Regions from separate parts of the Homo sapiens genome. Here region 1 is linked to region 2. The links are contacts of gene promoters, found by promoter capture Hi-C in blood cells and fetal thymus (Javierre and others, 2016). All regions are on one chromosome and are shown on one strand. Each heading gives the region's core, a stretch centred on a gene start or on the middle of the fragment in contact. The rest is flanking DNA. Distances are from core to core; before and after follow the strand shown.

Region 1 (2,946 bases), core at 306-2,805, 260 kb after region 2:
TAAGGTGCCTAGGATCATAAGACCAGTAAGCGTGGGTGAGGCCAAGGCTTGGCCTGGATCTCTTACCTCCACTCCTTATTGCTTGTCACATTGTGTACCGATGTCTGGGTATTTTCCCAGCCTGCCATTGATCTTAGAAGGAAAATTCTGCACTGGTGCTGCTCCAAGAGATACAGAGGATGCATTGATCTAACCCAATGTGTTATGTGGTTGATTTCTAAGGTGAAGTGAAATCAGTTCCAAAAAGGTTTGAAGAGATCAGCGCTGTCCATCCAGGGTTAAGACCCTATGTGTACCTTCCCTGGAATTCCATATTTATTGGTGATGCTATTTCTGTCTCAGAAAAGTCCCCCTAATTTCCAAAGTGGCTTACAAATAATAGGTTCTAGATCATCTTGAAAAAATTGGTCAGGTGATTGTGTATAAGAAAGAGGACAATTTTATATCACAAAAAGGAAAATGCACCAACATTTATATGTTTGCATTCAACTGTATGTTGTGCACAGTTGTGTGTGTGTTGGGGTTGGAAGAGTAAGTGTCATGGAAACTGAACGATGCTGGGAAATACATCCTAATTACTCAGGACCATATGTTTTTTATAAACAAGCAAACAAGAGTCATGGATTCAACTATAATGGATAAAAATCTCTCAAGTTAAAAACAATACAAGGAAGTAAAGTAGAATAGCACAGTACAGTAGTTAAGCATGAAGTAGTTAAGCTTGAAGCCAGTTGCCTGAGTTTATAACCCAGTCTGCTAATTACTAGTTGTGTGACATTTGATAGGTCAGTCACTTAAAAACAAAATAAAACAAAACAAACAAATCCTCTGTTCAATATTCCCCTCTATAAAGTGGACACAATAATAATAAGTATGCATAAGGATGTTGCGAAGGTTAGATGAGAAAGTGCAAATGAAATGTCTGATACTTCATAGAAGTGTGTTATAAAAGAGAAAAATATATATACGATTTTTGAACTCCTTGTAATAGAATAATATATTTCTCAGGTTCAAGAAGTTGGGAAAGAGTTAATCACAACAGAATTGTCACCATGCTAAGAGAGAGAGCAAGTGATTTTACTACTAGAAGCCAGTATGAACCCAATAACACAGTATGGGGAAGAGAACATCTAACCAATGCATAATAATTAGGATATTGTTGAGAACCGAGCCCTCCGAGCTTCTACATGCCTTTAACAATTAGTAGGTCAATGACCTTGCTCAGTGGATCTCCACTCATATGGGAGGCACCAGCAAAATGAAGAAAAACCCGCAGACGCTCTTGTAGGAAATGCAATTAAAGTGGAAAGGCCTAAAATAACATTTCCATTGTGCCCCTCACTTACATTGGAGAGTCAGGGCCAGACTGGGAGGCTGGCAGGGAAACAGCTTGGCACTGCAGGCCACCTGGGGTCCATTTGCCAACAGGACTTGTGGCTAACATCCTTTGATAACAAATTTCCCAGAGTCACAGGGCTCTTTTAGATCACCATGATTCCGGGTCACAAGACGGATGGGAAGCCACAGAGCCCCGGGTCCTTTCCGTGAAGTTAAATATTACACCATCCATAATGAAACATCTTTGTATCTCCTCGTGGCCACAATTACTTAGTCACTGATTATACAATAAACTCTTCAGAAATAATTCACAAAGATGAGAAATCAAACCCCACCCTTTTATGTTCTGAGGCATGAACCAGCTCCACCTCTTGAGAGAGGGAGGTAAAGCCTGTTGCACATCTTCAGCCCATGGTATTTTCCGGCAAATGTGGAAGACCCTCAATATTGGAAGGTGATCTGCAGTTCCACAGGGAGACAGTACAATGGGTGCCTGCCTGGGAATGGCAGTGCCTGGCTTCAGATACGATTTCAACCGATCAGCTGTATAGCACTGGGCAAATTACTTAATTTCCTAGGCATCTCAGTTTCCTTATTCACCAAATGGCAGTAATAATTGCACCTACTTCATAAGGTTGTTGGACCTGGCACACTGTAGTTGCTAAATAACCGTCAACTATAATGCCCATTCTCCTGAGTCGTTCACCTTTTCGATAGCCTAGCAAAAAGTTCTTTGAAAAAATGACAACTACCAAACAAAAGGCATATTTCATATAGACAAAATAACTCACATTGTCTCTTACACATGATAGGGACCTTGCCCATGATTGTGGCCCTTACATAATCTGGATAACCATTTGGGTTTTTATTGCTATGTGGTGCTTCTTCTGCAAATGGTATTGTCCTTTGTGAAACCCACTGCTTTTACCTTATCATTGGCAAATACTTTTGGGGTTTACTCGAAATGTATTCACTGGCATGGGGAGTATGGATGAGGTCCCTCCTTCATGGAACTTAGATTCTGGTTAGGTAAGGGGTAACAATAAAGCTTAAGAAGTTTTAGGATCCCAAACTCAGAGTTCAAGGGGCTCATGTGTGAGGAACTCTAGGGGGAGGAAGAAAAGAAGTAAAGTTTAAGCTCAAAATTGAAGGCGGCTGAGAGTTTTGCTTGAGAAAGTGCCCCAGGTGGGTGGAAGAATGTGGTTCCAATACCTAAAAGGAAAAGAAGCTTGGAGTTGAGAGGAGCCGAGGCCTTCCACCCACCTGCAGCAATGTCAGGCGGTAAGAGGATGATGGTCAGGCTGACCTAGGCTTGGAGACCACATCAAAGGGTCAGGCTTGATCCCAAAAGTATCAAGGAATCACGGAAGGGTTTCACACTGGGAGTGAAATGGTCTGACCTGAGGTGAGGCTGGATCATCTTGGCTGCTCTGTGAGGCAGGAGAGAATGTGGGGATCCTGGTGGGAGGCTGTGGCTGTCAAGTCGGCACAAGTGCACCATCTTTTAATGATTCTGGCCCAGACTTGGGTGGTTTGGAGGTAAAGAGGTAGATAGATTTGAGAAACATTTAAACATTTGGCTTAAAACTAAAGCTAGCCCTCCCTGCC
Region 2 (2,856 bases), core at 146-2,645:
CAATATAGTTTCTTTGGCTAAAAGGAATTGATTCATCAAATCTGCAAGCTTTCCCAGCCAAACTCCAGGCTTCAGCTGGATTTCCACTTAACTGTACGGGGTAACAGATCCCAGGCGCCTTTGCTCATATACTTGGAGACCAACTTCGCCAAACTACCCATGCGACTCATGCCTCTGAATGTCCAAAGTCACAGGCCTCGCATTTTCTGTTGATGATAATCTGCTTTGCTAAAAGAAACTCCTGAGTGTAAGGCACAGGTTTTACTTAAAAGTCCAGTTGCAAAGCTTGAATTTACAGTTCTAGGGACACCGAATGCCTGACAATAAACTGGTCTCTAAAGTTATACCATGAGAATGAGTCTGAATTCACCAAGTGGAAAGAATAGGAATGCTGCCCTTAGACTTTAGCCTAGGGGCTGAGGGAGGTCTCGCTGGAAGAGAGGTAAAAGAGAAAAAAGAGGCTGGAGGGAATGTGGGTCCAAATCTCACTCCCCATTTTGAGCTCTTTCCACACCTCCAGTGAAACCGTCACAAAGGGGCTGGAAAGAAAACTTGATCCTGGTGCAAGTCTGTTGGGGAGGGAAGACAGGTGGAGTCCGGGAGGAGATGACAAGTGGCCTCCATTTAGCCATTGATTCATTCATTCATTCAACAAACGTTCTAGAACATACTAGGTTCCAGGCTCTGTGTCATGCAACGTTCTAGAACATACTAGGTTCCAGGCTCTGTGTCATGCAGTTGACTTAACTGGCCCCTAAGGATGAGGCTTTCCGTCTTTCTCCGGGACAAGGCCCAGCTGTCTCCCGGGCAGGGGGACAGGGGGTGCGGGTCGGGGAGGAGGGCTCCTCTGCGCCTCCCTGGTAGCCCAGGTAGCCACTCCCAGAGGGGCCACGACCAACCAGGGCCCTCTCCGCCCACGAGGACGCCAAGCAGACCGCGCCGCCCTGAACCCAGCTCTCAGCCCCCACTCTGCAGGACCCCGCAGAAGGGGCGGGCCGGGAGCCGGGAGGCCGGACCCTGCGCCGCTACCCGCCCGGCCCCGCCCCCACCTTCCGCCCCACCCCGCCGGGCTGCAGGGCTCTGCCTGGCCGGCGCCGACCCCGCCTTACCAGGGTTTTGGCTACGTTCCCCCTCTGGGTGATGTTTTTGCTGTGCTTCTCGTTAGCCATCCGGATCCGCTGTTTGGCCACCATGGCTTGTGCGCTCTGAAATGCTCCCACCTGCAAGGATTCCCCCTGCGTTAGCTCCTGCGACAGGGCCGAGCGCGTCCCGCCGAGGCCCCCGCGGCCCACCCGGGCGCTGCAGGTGGCAAGGCGTGGCCCCGAGCCCTGCGCACCCCGCTCCCCGAGCCCCGGCTAGCCGACTCCAGAGAGAGGCCGCAGCCCGGACGGAAGTAATCTCTCATCTCAGGAAACCCTTTCCGACTTCCTCGCCATCCTTCCGGTCCCCGCAGCCACCTACCCCGCGCGGCCACCGAGGCAGGCGCGACCGCACGTCCTCCCGCGCCGAGCGGCCGGAGCGCAGCGCGCAGAGCCGGGGCCCTGCAGTGTCGCGGTCCTGTAGCCGAATGCTGCGGGGCCGAAGGTTCGGGCGACCACGGCGTTTGTGAGCGCGTCGGGGACGGGGACGCGGCCCCTCCTGTGTTTGTCGGCCGGTGACCCACCCCAGCCCCGGGGAAGGGATGAGGGCGGCCGCGCTTCAGGCCGGGCCGCGCGGTCTCCCCTGCACCGCCGCCCCCTGGACGAGGGCTGGACCCAAGGCGGTGGTCAGGGACCTCAGAACACAAGTAGAACCAGTCCAGGCCCGGGCCCGCGCTGCCCGGGTATGGTCCACCAAACGAGCCTTCTCTTTAAGGGTCTCGAGAAGGGCCCCACGCTGGGGGACCCCACTGCAGAACTTTTCGTGAGGGCTGCAAGGAGGGCCGCGTTGTAAAATAAAGAGGAGACACGAAGCGGCATCCCCTGAGGGTTGGGGATCGGGCCGTGAGGATGGAGTTGGGACAGGCCTTTTTGCTTTGGTAGTTGTAGGGGTTGCATTGGAAGATGGGCCAGCGGCAGAGCGGAGCATGCAGGAAAGAGGAAGAGGCCTTGGACCTGCAGCCCAGGTCGGATTTGGTGGTTACTGTCTAAATCTGAAGCTTTGGCCTGCCTTGACTCCCCACCCACCCAGGGCAGCTTGGACCTCTCTCTAGCCACCCTTGTCCCGAGGGGTCTGAGTGTCTCCCAGACTAAACTGGGCATTTTCTGCAGTGGAAGGATAAAAATGGAAGCGTTTACGCGCCTCCCAGACACTGGTATTAGGGCTCAAGAGCTCTACAGATTGCCTGGGGAGGTAGGGGTGGAAGGGGTTCAGTTCCTCACTTGGAGTTAGCTCTTAGAAGCTCAGAAGAGTGGAGGCGAAGAGGGGACATTCAGCCTGGGAGATCTGGGGCAGCGGGAAGTGGGGATACCGGGTCGGGGTGAAGGCAAGCAGCAGCACCCCCAGCATGGGGAAGAAGGCCTGAGGCTGTCTCTGGCCACTGCATCTCTAGGCCTTCTCTTGGAGCGGGAGGTGGCTGGGTTTCCAGGGAATTTTGTGTGAGTAAAATTTTCCCATGTCATTGGAGAGTTAGGAAGAGCTCCTCTTTTGGGGCCTTTTTCCAAGCGGGTCCCCCTCACCCCGCTACAGGCTTCTTGTCACTCAGGCTTCAATAAAGGCCATTCTGGGGGCTGCTTGCTGTAACCTAGAAGACAGAATTGCCTAGGATCATTAGTAGAGTCATTTTTTTTTTTTCCTACTCTACAGGCCAATTAATTTGAAACAAGCTTCTATGGTCTTTTAACTGTTAGCATCACCACTGTTGTAACAGGACCATAA

What was found. Contacts are between HindIII fragments. The CHiCAGO score rates a contact against its expected background, and 5 or more counts as called.
Region 1: a fragment that was not itself captured here is called in contact with the fragment with the promoter of SERP2 in region 2 in 6 of 17 cell types (naive CD4 T cells, naive B cells, total CD8 T cells and 3 more); the score reaches 8.2 in naive CD4 T cells.

Annotation. Positions count from the first base shown.
Region 1 is chr13:44,109,013-44,111,958 of GRCh38, reverse strand. The region is part of intron 2 of LINC00390 (long intergenic non-protein coding RNA 390); the gene reads left to right. It overlaps SMIM2-AS1 (SMIM2 antisense RNA 1), which reads right to left and starts at 1,410. Exons shown (of 5, transcript NR_104065.1): 1 at 1,347-1,410. The HindIII fragment of the contact is 1,666 bases long and covers 723-2,388 here.
Region 2 is chr13:44,372,363-44,375,218 of GRCh38, reverse strand. SERP2 (stress associated endoplasmic reticulum protein family member 2) reads right to left here and starts at 1,395. Exons shown (of 3, transcript NM_001010897.3): 1 at 1,110-1,395. The coding sequence starts at 1,193. LOC105370297 (a long non-coding RNA gene) reads left to right here and starts at 1,653. Exons shown (of 2, transcript XR_001749858.3): 1 at 1,653-1,822; 2 at 2,022-2,856. The HindIII fragment of the contact is 1,852 bases long and covers 288-2,139 here.